Regions from separate parts of the Homo sapiens genome. Here regions 2 and 3 are each linked to region 1. Evidence: promoter capture Hi-C in 16 types of primary human blood cells and fetal thymus (Javierre and others, 2016). All regions are on one chromosome and are shown on one strand. The core of a region is centred on a gene start or on the middle of the fragment in contact, and the rest is flanking DNA. Distances in the headings are between cores, read along the strand shown. Region 1 holds the start of SHROOM1 (shroom family member 1). Region 2 holds the start of ZCCHC10 (zinc finger CCHC-type containing 10). Region 3 overlaps RAD50 (RAD50 double strand break repair protein).

Region 1 (3,865 bases), core at 907-3,406:
AGCCCACCCGACTGCTCAGACATTAGCCCTTTCTCTTCCTACTCTTTCTGAGTCCAGCTTGGGAGCACTAGCTCATGTCACCCATCCTGCCCATTTTGGCTTGCTGCAGCTACAGATGGGGATCACCAAACACAAGATGTTTCCTCAAAAGAGGTCTTGAAAATCTATGAAAATCTATCTTATTTGTGAGTTACTATGTTAAAGGATTCTGAATTCAGCAAATAAAAACAGCTTGAATGGGCAATAAAAATGTGTCTACACATGTGTTTCCTTATTGACTGTAACTTGTTGAAGATGCTTTTGCACTGGTGGCCCTATCAGGTTGATGTTCACGCAGGCTCCTCACAGTGGGTGCTTTGCAGAACCTACCATGCCAAGAGGGCCCAGCTGCTTTGGTGTGTTTTGGGGGGCCTCAGCACAAAACAACAAGGCATTTTCATACTTGTCTGGCTGCAGGGAGCCTCTTGCAGTCCAGCCAGCCCCTGTGGCTGGGGGTAGCCCTACCTTAGGGGTCCCTGCCTCAGTGGCAGTGGTACCTGTGGGCTGGGCTGTTATGCCTGTGCCGGCTGCTGAAAGGGAGTTCAGAGGTGGAGCTCAAGGAGCTCTGCAGGCATTTTGCCAAGCCTCTCCAGAGCAGAGGGAGCAACCTAGACTCCCCGCTAGAAAGACACCAGATTGGAGTCCTGGGAGGGGGAGTTGGGGTGGGCATTTGATGTATACTTGTCACCTGAATGAAGGAGCCAGAGAGGAAGGAGACGAAGATGAGATTGGCCTTCAAAGCTAGGGGTCTGGCAGGTGGAGGCACCAGTCTGAAAGGAGGAGCTGGGGCTGAGGAATTGTCAAGGGGGCCAGTGCTCCTTCAGTCTGGGCTTCATGGTGTCTGTGACAAGTCAGGCAGCAGTTGGGATGTGGCTCTGGAGTTCAGCAGGGGAGGGTAGACCAGGCAAGACCCAGGTTTTTAGTTAGAGGTTACTGGGGAAATAGCTGAAGACAGTTTCCGGTGGATAAAATCACACCAAGGCAATGGGAACAGATCCAAGTAAGGCGACCGAGGAGGCACAGGAGAACGGACAGCCTCAAATACAACGAATGATCAGGATTTACATCATACCTCCCTCAAGGCCACCTCACATCTGACCTCTCTGTGGAGGGGCTATCCAGGCCGCCCCTCCCAGCGGGTCTTCCCTCAGTACTGGGCTCACTGTGTAGGCGCTGTCTCCCTGTCAGACTGAGTTCCTGGGTACTGGACCACGTCTCAAAACCCAGTACCCGCAGCTGGGTCTGGCTAGGCGGACGTTCTGGGAAGTTCACCGGCTCTCCCTGTCCCCAGCGTCCCCCGTTCTCCCAGCCTGTCCGCGCTGACAGCGCACCCCACGCAGCATCCACGCTCCGAGTGTGCGACTGGTTTACGGGCTCATCGGTCGCTGCACCCCAGATGCAGAGTCTCTGGAGACCCGAGCTCCGTGCCATGCACAGGAAATGCAGGAAGCTGGCGACACCCGGGGAGAGGCGGCCGCGGGCGTGGACAGACCCGGTTACCTGGGGTTCAATCTCTGGGAGCCGAGGCACGGGAGGGAGAGAGGCGCAGGCCCCGGCGGCCGCAGGGGGCGGCAGAGACACGCGGAGCGGCTCGACAGCAGATGGCCGCAGCCCCGCGCAGTTCTGGGCCTTTCCCGTTGGGTTCACCGTCGGGGAAGGATCGCGCGCAGGGGACAGCGCGAGCCCGGGAGGGAAGGACCCGGCTTCTCCAGATGCTTGGCGACAAAGGGCAGGAGCGGAGGGTGGCGGAGTGAGACCGCGCTGCCCGCCGGCGCCACACGCGGCGCGCCCAGCCGCGCCCCTGAGCCGCGCCGCCAGCTTAGAGTGGGCCGCCTCTCCGCCCTGCAGCTCTGCAGCTGGGAGAGGCGCGCTGGGGTCCGACTCCACTGGCGCAACCTGACGCGGCGCCGAGCCAGACACGTCCCGGCCGAACGATGCCCGGGCTGCCCCGCGACCACCGCCTCGCCGCCCGCTCTTCACCCCCGTCCGCCCGCAGCCCCGCCGGCCTCCCGGGGGAAGCGGACCCAGCCGCCCGCTTCCCGCTCCCCCGCCCCCGCCGCGTACCTGAGGCTCCCGCCGAGACGCGCTCCTGGGCCGTCGCAGCCGCGCGGTGACATCAGAGCCCCGGGCTCTGACTCCGACCCCACCTCCAGGCTCCGGCCGCGGCCTCAGGGGAGGCGCCACGTCCGGCCGCGGGGGCGGGAGCCGCAGCCTCTTGGTAGCGTCCGCGCGCCGGCCCAGTCCCAGGTCTGAGGGTGGACAGTGCGTTCCCGCGCGGGCCACAGGCCTCTTGCCCCAGGCCGGAGAAACCTGAGCGAGGTGGTGGGAGGGCGACTACGGCGACCGCCCACCGGCCTCCAGCGCGTCCGTGATGCTCGGGGGCCGGGTCCCTCGGGGCCTGACACCTCCCTCGGTGGGGAGGTCCAGGGCGGGCCCTTAGGCGCCTGACGGCTACCCGCTTTCCCCCCCAAGCCCGGCCAAGAAAACAGAGCTGCCAGGGCCTCGTGCCTCCCACCTGTCCCGCTGAGTAACTCGGCCCTTGATCAACTCTACCCCCAGACCCCCATTTCCAAAACTCTTCCAGCTCTTTGACTCCCACCATGGGCTCTTGTCTCCTGTTCCCTGTCCCATTTCTTTCCATTTCTCCCACTACCCAGCATGGTCTGGGCCCTCCAGCCTGCTACCGGGGTGGGGGAGAGGGGGGCGGAGCACGGGGAAGCCCCTGGACTTGTGTGCACCTTAGCTGTCCTGAGTGTGTCCTTAGGGAGCTGGACATATGCATACCCACTAAGGCTGGACACTGGCGCTCGAGGCCCTCACCTTCCAGGATCTCCATTTTCCAAAGAACGCTCTGCCTGCACCTGCCACTGAGCTCTCCTTGCTGTGTCCTCAGGCTCCCCTGCCCCGACTTCCCAAACTCTGTCCTATGAATACCACTCTGCCAAGAAATGCTCCGTTCCTGAGAGGGGCTGGGGACCCTTTGATGAGCCTCTCCGGCTCTCAGGTCTCTGCCTTTGTCCTCCGCTGCCCTCCCGCTCCCACAGGATCAACAGGGCTGGGCTCAGGGGCTGTGTCCTCCCATGGTAGTATCCCTGGCAAATAAAGGTTTATTGGTGTTAATAACCAGGACTCTGAACTCTGGCCAAGAGTCAAGGTTGCCACTTCCTAGGGACACTGGGAGCCTGAGGAACTCTGTCTTCTTGGGTCTTCTTGGGTTCGGAGGCAGGAGACACCTGAGCCCGACTTCTGAGAGTGGTGCCCGCTGGGCCCTGCTCCTTCTTCAACACCATCTGGACTCAGGCACCAGCTTCAGCTGGAGCGCTAGGCTTTAAGACAGTGCCTAAGAACCTTTCGGCTTTGAAAGACTTTTGTTGTTTGTTTTGCTTTTTTGAGACAGAGTCTCCCTCTGTCGCCCAGGCTGGAGTGCAGTGGCCGGATCTCTGCTCACTGAAACCTGCGCCTCCCAGGTTCAAGCAATTTTCCCTGCCTCAGCCTCCCAAGTAGCTGGGATTACAGGCACCGGGCACCACGCCCAGCTAATTTTTGTATTTTTAGTAAAGACGGGGTTCGCCATGTTGGCCAGGCTGGTCTCAAACTCGTGACCTCAGGTGATCCACCCACCTTGGCCTCCCAAAGTGCTGGATTACAGGCATGAGCTACCGCACCCGGCCTGAAAGACTTTTAATATTTTTAAGACCCTGATCCACAGAGTCTCACAGCAGCATCAAAATAGAAGAAAGACAGCCCAGCAAACAACAACAAAAAATTTTTAATTGCTCATGTTGGCTGGGGCGGTGGCTCATGCCTGTAATCCCAGCACTTTGGG
Region 2 (3,945 bases), core at 595-3,094, 200 kb after region 1:
CAGCCTGACCAACATGGTGAAACCCCGTCTCTACTAAAAAATACAAAAATTAGCAGGGCATGGTGGCGGACGCCTGTAGTCCCAGCTAGTCGGGAGGCTGAGGCAGGAGAATCATTTGAACCAGGGAGGCAGAGGTTGCAGTGAGCCAAGATCGCACCACTGCATTCCAGCCTGGGCAACAGAGTGAGACTCCGTCTAAAAAAAAAACAAAAAAAACCTGTCTGACTTCGAGCCTTCTTCCTTCACCAAGCTTACTACTCTAACTCCCTAAGTCTGTCTGTACATTTGAGGAACTCTTCTTATCAGGCCTGAAAGGGTAGATGGAAAGGAGAAGAAAAAGGGATTATTTGAATTAAAAAATATAAAAAGATATACAGATAAACACACATACATATACTAGCAGACTCTGAGCTACATATAGACATGAAAATGGAGATGGCATGAAATATTTATGAAAAAGAGGCAGATGTCTGGATGTGCAAAGGCTGTTGGAAAAAAAAGCTTTATAAGAAAGGGGTTGCCGCGCGCGGTAGCTCACGCCTGTAATCCCAGCACTTTGGGAGGCCAAGGCGGGCGGATCTCGAGGTCAGGGGATCGAGACCATCCTGGCTAACACGGTGAAACCCCATCTCTACTAAAAATACAAAAAACCAGCCGGGCATGGTGGCGGGCGCCTGTAGTCCCAGCTACTCGGGAGGCTGAGGCAGGGGAACGGCGTGAACCCGGGGGGCGGAGCTTGCAGTGAGCCAAGATTGCACCTCTGCACTCCAGCCTGGGAGACAGAGCAAGACTCCGCCTCAAAAAAAAAAAAAAAAAAAAAAAAAAAAAAGAAAGGGGCATCTGGGGTGACCCTTGCATTATTTGTCAGCTATGAATCTCTTCTGCCACTCTCTCTTGTTCATTAGGCGTAATGGCTATCTTTCAGTTCTGTAAAAAGTAAGTTTCAGGCTCAAAGCAATTATGCCACTATCCGGATGCTCTTTCTCAAAATCCTCGTATGACTGTTCCTTTTTCATCCTTTAAATCTCTGTTCAAATTCCACCTCTTCAGAGATGCCTTTCCAGTCCAACCAACCTAAAGTGGGCCTTTCCCTCTTTCCATCACAACAGCTTACTTCCTTCAAAGCTGTTATCACCAGCTGTATTTACAATTTGTGGTTTATCGACTGTTTCCATCACTAGAATGTAAGCTCTCTGAAAGCAAGGATTTTGTCTTGAACACCTCTATTTATACCCAATGTCTGGCACAGAACGGTAGGAACTAAATAAATTAATATTTATTGAAAGAGAGAATGAGTAGCAAAAGGTGGTAAGATAGCCTGGGAAAGCAATCGGCATTGAAGGCAGGGTGTTCCTAAGGAAGGCGCTAGAATAAGGAAGTAGGAAAAGGCAGCTGGGCTGGACACTGAATAGGAAACTGAAGGTTTACGTCGGCTGGAATAAAGGTGTCGGACCGGGGCTTCAGGGCTCCCCTGTCCACGCGTGGGGTTGGCGGAGGGGCATAAATCACTGAGTGACCAACTGTGGGCGTTCCTTTCAGAGAAACCAAACGCGACAGTTGTCTTCAAACCCCGCTCTGTCCCGTGCCGCAGACTTTACGCGGCTGTCTTCCGCGAAATCGCTAACCCCCGGTCACCAGACTTATCGCCCGGGCCCGAGCCCCCCGGGAGCCAGAAGAGTGTTTGAGAAACGGACATTCTCCGCCGGTCCCAATAGGGGTCCGACACCAGCCCGTTGACGCGCGTTTCCCCGCTCCCAGCCCTCCAGTGGACCCGAACCGGATCCTTACTTACGCTTGTCTCCGGGCTATTAGCCGATGCATGGGAGTCGCCATCTTAGCGCGGTCAAAGCCGGCCGCGCAGGGTTTTGGGAAACTCCTCGGAAGGGCGGGGCTTCCAACCGGGAGGCCGTAGACGTAGGCGGGGCCAGACAGGCTTCTAAGGGGAGGTATCTTAGTGCCGGCTGGTGGGTCGGGAGGGGAGGGGCTGGAGGGTCGGGAGGGGAGGGGCTGGAGGGTCGGGAGGGGAGGGGCTGGAGGGGCTGGAGGGTCGGGACGGGAGGGACTGGTGGGTCGGGAGGGGCCGGTGTCTCCAGTATGGGTCTCGGGTTCTCGGGCCGAACAGGGTTTCAAAGGATGATTACAGGCAAGAACATTATCTGTGGAAAATGAGGACAACATTCTCGAACGAGGGATACACATACAAAGACAAAGAATGAAACTTTGGTGTTCAGAAAACTAGAAGTAGTCTGGAGAATAGAAAGGAATTAGTTGACCAGGATTGAGACCATCAATTGAAAGAATGACTTTAGCAAGCCATGGAGTGCAAACATATACGTTATTTCTGTTTTTTATGTATTTCACAGCGTTGTTACGAGTACTAAATGGGACTGTATAACTAAAGCTGCTTTATCAAGCAGAAAAGGACTATACAAATATTTTAGAATATTTTAGCTGCACCTACATCTAATGTCAGCTCACGGAGCTATTATTCTCTTAAAACCCACGTTCTCTGAAATATATATAATTTTCTGAAGTGTGTGTGTGTTTCTGGGTCATCCATATTTTTTCCTTTTTTTTTTAATTTGAGACAGAGTCTCGCTGTGTCGCCAGGCTGGAGTGCAGTGGCGCGATCTCGGCTCAGTGCAACCTCTGGGTCCCTGGTTCAAGAGATTCTCTTGTCTCACACTCCCGAATAGCTGGGATGACAAGCACGCGCCACCATGCCCAGCTAATTTTTGTATTTTTACTAGAGACAGGGTTTCACCATGTTGGCCAGGATGGTCTCGATCTCCTGACCTCATAATCCGCCCGCCTCGGCCTCCTAAAGTGCTGGGATTACAGGCGTGAGCCACCGCGCCCAGCCATATTTTTTCAATTAATAATTAACACTTAAAATGTTTTAGGAGCTGAGGACAGAGCATTTGAACAAATAAAATCCGTGTACACATGGAACTTTCTACAGACAATGAATGAAGACTATTCTCATGGGCATAAGTACTCTAACGAAAAATATTTCAGAGTAAGGGATTAAAGAGTGATTAGGAGTTAGGGAAGGTGATGATGTGACCTTTGAGCACAACTTGTTCTTCAAAAAAATAGGCTCTTACATGTTGTGTTCTCCAGCTTGATTTTTTCATTCCTCAGTGTACTTATGAAAATGTTTTCCCGGCCAGGCGCAGTGGCTCACGCCTGTAATCCCAGCACTTTCGGAGGCCGAGAAGGGCGGATCACCTGAGGTTGGGAGTTCAAGGCCAGCTTGACCAACATGGAGAAACCCCATCTCTACTAAAAATACAAAAAAAATTAGCCGGGCGTGGTGGTGCATTCATGTAATCCCAGCTACTCGGGAGGCTGAGGCAAGAGATTCGCTTGAACTTGGGAAGCAGAGGTTGCAGTGAGCCGAGATCGCGCCATTGCACTCCAGCCTGGGCAACAAGAGTGAAACTCCATCTCAAAAACAAAAAAAGAAAAGAAAATATTTTCCCATGTCTGCACATACAGATCTAATTCATTCTTTTTATACATTATGTTATGGATTACATGGATATTCCCCAAGTATCCAGCCAGTACCCTATTGCTGAACAATTAGATCATTTACCACAACAACAGAAAGAGTAAATCCCCCGTGTTGCTATAAGATGACATCCTAGTAGGATTGCTGGGTCAAAGGACATGCACCCTGTTTTTCTTTTTTTTGAGACGGAGTCTACCTCTATTGCCCAGGCTGGAGTGCAGTGACACTATCTTGGCTCACTGCACCCTCCGCCTCCCGGGTTCAAGTGATTCCCCTGCCTCAGCCTCCCGAATAGCTGGGACTACAGGCGCCTGCCCCCGTGCCTGGCTAATTTTGGTATTTTTAGTAGAGACAGGGTTTCACCATGTCGGCCAAGCTGGTCTCAAACTCCTGACCTCAGGTGATCCGCCTGCCTTGGCCTCCCAAAGTGC
Region 3 (3,874 bases), core at 1,375-3,874, 240 kb before region 1:
AATTGAACAATGAGAACACTTGGACAGACACAGGAAGGGGAACATCACACACTGGGTCCTGTTGTGGGGTGGGGGGAGGGAGGAGGGATAGCATTAGGAGATACACCTAATGTAAATGACGAGTTAATGGGTGCAGCACACCAACATGGCACATGTATACATATGTAACAAACCTGCATGTTGTGCACATGTACCCTCGAACTTAAAGTATAATAAAAAGAAATAAGTTGTTTTCGGCTTTGGGTTGTTACAGATAAAACTGCTATAAACTTCTGTATACAGGTCTTTGGATAACTTTAGGACTCGGGTTGCTAGGTCGTGTGGTAAATATATGTTTAACCTTATAAGTTACCAGATGGCTGTACCATCTGGTACCACTTCATAGTCCTACCAACAATATACCAACAATTTATGGGAATGTAATTGCTCTGCATTCTCATCCCCACTTAGTACTGTCAGTCTTTTTCATTTTAGCCATAACAGTAGGGGTGTGGTAGTGTCTCATTGTGACATTGTGAGGTTGTATTTCTTTATATTTTTAATTTGTGTTTTCCTAGTTGATCAGTCAATTGATTATTGATTTTGAGCATCTTTTCATGTATTTATTTGCCACCTGAATATCTTCGTTAGTAAAATATAAAAGTCTTTTGCCTATTTTTCAATGTTATTTATTTATTGGTCATTTTATTATTGAGCTGTGAGAGTTCTTTTTTTTTTTTTTTTTTTTCTTGTTTTTTGAGACAGGGTCTCGCTGTCTTACCCAGGCCAGAGTGCAGTGGTGTGATCTTGGCTCACTGCAACCTCTGACTCCCAGGCTCAAGTGATCCTTCCACCTCAGTCTCCCACGTAGCTGGGACTACAGGCACACACTCACCACACCGGTGAGACTTGTAGAGGCAAGGTCTCACCAGGTTACCCAGGCTGGTCTCAAACTTCTGGGCTCAAGCAATCAGCCTGCCTCAGTCTCCCAAAGTGCTGGGATTACAGGTGTGAGCTACAGTGCCAGGCAGAGAGTTCTAAATATGTTCTGGATACAAGCCCTTTATCAGATATTGGTTTTGCAGATATTTCTTAACTGCTTTTCAGAGGACAGGAGTTTTAAATTTTGATCAGGTACAGTTTATAAACTTTTTTCTCTTATGGTTTATACTTTTTGTTTATTATTTAGGAAGTCTTTGACCCAGTGTCACAAAAATATTCTTCAGTGTTTTCCTCTAAAAGTTTTATAGTTTGAGTTCTTACAATTAAGTATATGCTTCATTTCAGAATCTTAATATGATATGAGGTAAAAGTTGAGGTTTACTTTCTTACATACAAATGTCCACTTCTTCTAGCACCCAGAGCCTAGTCATTATGATACCCTGCCTTCTAATCTTATTGTTATCTTGTCTCCCAATCTTAACTATACAATTTTGTACAAGTCAGTTAAGTCCTTTGAATTTCCTGCTTAGTATATACTTTTGTGAGGATTAGAGAGAATTTATAGCAGCACCTAGTACAGTGTCTGGAACATAGCAGACATTCAATCAGTGATACCTGTGACTGTTGCTCTTGGTAAAATTATTTTTTTCAAATCTCTCTTTCGTTTAGCTAACATTGAACACCTATTGCATGTTCTGGGGATACATTAGGGAACAAAGTAAACAAAGTTTCTGTTTTTAGGTTCATTTGTATATGAACGTTTACGTTCATATACAAATCACAAGCTATACTATTAGTATAATTTTAATAAATTATGTTAAAGTCGAGGATGCATTTTGGTGCAATTATGAAAGCTTGCAATTGCTGTCTAAGCATTCCAATAACTTCATATGTTAGTTTAAAATTAGGTTCTGCTGGGCATGGTGGTACATACTTATAGTCTCAGCTACTTGGAGGCTGAGGTGGGAGGAACACTTGAGCCCAGGAGTTCAAGTTGTATTGCACTGTTATTGCACCTGTGAATAGCCACTCCAGCCAGGGCAACATAGCAAGACCTTGTCTCTGCATTTGAAATAATAATAATAAAAGTAGGTTGTAAAAATGTCTTAGAAGAAGAGTTGGTCAGTTTTGGAATCATAGAGGCAAACACTAGAAGAATATCCCCAGCATCATCCAATAAGAGAATGCCCCGAACCAGATCCCAGTATTCCTGGGAGATGAGGCAACCAGCTGTCTCTGGAAGCGAGCCTCAGAGCAGGCCACTGAGCTCCCTTGTTGTACTTTACTTGCTCAGAGTCCTCTGTGGTTGAGCAAGCTTTGGATTAAAGTATACTCTTCATGTAAATTTGCCTATAGGCTCAGAATGCATTGGTAACTCACCATGAATTTCTAGCCTTCTCAGTAGTCCTGACTTAAAAAAATACATTAAATAGTTACCTTTTTAAGGATTAAGTAACTCTAAATGCCCAATGAATGAATAATGACTTTTGTGGCAGGTGTTGAGGACAGGACATGGTGTTTGGAGTTAGAAGTGGAATTTAATTCCTGCTTCTCTCTACTAGCTGTGAGGACTTGGGCCAAGTTACTTAATGTCTCTGAACTTCAGTTTCTCTAGGCCTGCTCTACAGTGTTATTGTTAGCCTTAAATGAGATCACTTTTACTAAATGCCTGGACCTGGAGTATCTTACTTGTCTTCATCTATCAGCCATGTAAGCTATAGTGAGTTTTATTTATGTAATGTTTCTTTATTTTCAGAATCGTCTAAAAGAAATTGAACATAATCTCTCTAAAATAATGAAACTTGACAATGAAATTAAAGCCTTGGATAGCCGAAAGAAGCAAATGGAGAAAGATAATAGTGAACTGGAAGAGAAAATGGAAAAGGTTTGTGGTGGTAGAATTTTGTTCTGCTTCAAAATTTTGGGATTATTGTAATGAACTTTATTTGAATCCATTTTGCCATCCACATTGGAAAAAAACAAATACAGATCTTGTTACTTCTATGTATATGTTAAAATGAAGGATATTGAATAAGGTTTGGTTTATATTTGATACCTCAAAGTGATCATATTTTCTTATGTTTGTACATTAAAGCTTTTTATTTTGGTGTTACACAGGTTTTTCAAGGGACTGATGAGCAACTAAATGACTTATATCACAATCACCAGAGAACAGTAAGGGAGAAAGAAAGGAAATTGGTAGACTGTCATCGTGAACTGGAAAAACTAAATAAAGAATCTAGGCTTCTCAATCAGGAAAAATCAGAACTGCTTGTTGAACAGGGTAGGACAAAATGTTTATTTGGTCGTTTTTCCTACTATGATGTTATACATTTTCTGTATGAATGAAGAATCTCCAAGGACTTATGCTGAGTGAAAAGCCAATCTTAAAAGGCTATACACAGTATGTTTCCATTTATATAACATTTTTATAATGTCAAAATTTTAGAAATAGTGGAGAAATTAGTGGTTGCCAGGGATACTGGGTAAGAGAAAGGACAGGAGGGAGCTAGGTATGGTTATGATTAGAACAAAAAGAGAGTCCTTGTAGTATTGGAACTGTTCAGTATCTTGACTGCCATAGTGGATATATGAACCGACACAGGTGATAAAATTATATAGAACTTAATATACACACATCCACATGCTCAGGGGTACAAATAAAATTGGGGAAATTTGAATAAGATTGATGAATTATATCAATATCAGTATTCTGGTTGTGATATTTTACTGCAGTTTTGCAAAATGTTATCATTGGGAGAAACTGGGCAAAATGTACAAGAGACACACTGCATTATTTTTTATAACTCGTGAATCTGCAGCTATCTCAACTTTTTAAGCACCAGTTGAAAAAAAAATTATGAGATTTTTTTTTTAAAAGGTCGTCTACAGCTGCAAGCAGATCGCCATCAAGAACATATCCGAGCTAGAGATTCATTAATTCAGTCTTTGG

What was found. The method cuts DNA at HindIII sites, captures the fragments that hold promoters and counts their contacts. A CHiCAGO score of 5 or more calls a contact.
Region 2: the fragment with the promoter of ZCCHC10 here is called in contact with the fragment with the promoter of SHROOM1 in region 1 in 3 of 17 cell types (naive CD8 T cells, erythroblasts and M0 macrophages); the score reaches 5.9 in naive CD8 T cells.
Region 3: a fragment that was not itself captured here is called in contact with the fragment with the promoter of SHROOM1 in region 1 in 1 of 17 cell types (erythroblasts); the score reaches 5.5 in erythroblasts.

What each region holds. Positions count from the first base shown.
Region 1 is chr5:132,828,491-132,832,355 of GRCh38, forward strand. It overlaps SHROOM1 (shroom family member 1), which reads right to left and starts at 2,157. Exons shown (of 10, transcript NM_001172700.2): 1 at 2,104-2,157. RefSeq lists silencers at 1,526-1,835, 2,046-2,465. The HindIII fragment of the contact is 14,647 bases long and covers 1-3,865 here.
Region 2 is chr5:133,024,705-133,028,649 of GRCh38, forward strand. ZCCHC10 (zinc finger CCHC-type containing 10) reads right to left here and starts at 1,845. Exons shown (of 5, transcript NM_001300816.3): 1 at 1,793-1,845. The coding sequence starts at 1,833. RefSeq lists an enhancer at 1,605-1,914 and a silencer at 1,995-2,124. The HindIII fragment of the contact is 6,187 bases long and covers 500-3,945 here.
Region 3 is chr5:132,584,885-132,588,758 of GRCh38, forward strand. It overlaps RAD50 (RAD50 double strand break repair protein), which reads left to right. Exons shown (of 25, transcript NM_005732.4): 6 at 2,678-2,806; 7 at 3,040-3,205; 8 at 3,803-3,874. Among named protein-coding and RNA genes, the nearest start is that of RAD50, 30 kb to the left of the region's middle. The HindIII fragment of the contact is 780 bases long and covers 2,235-3,014 here.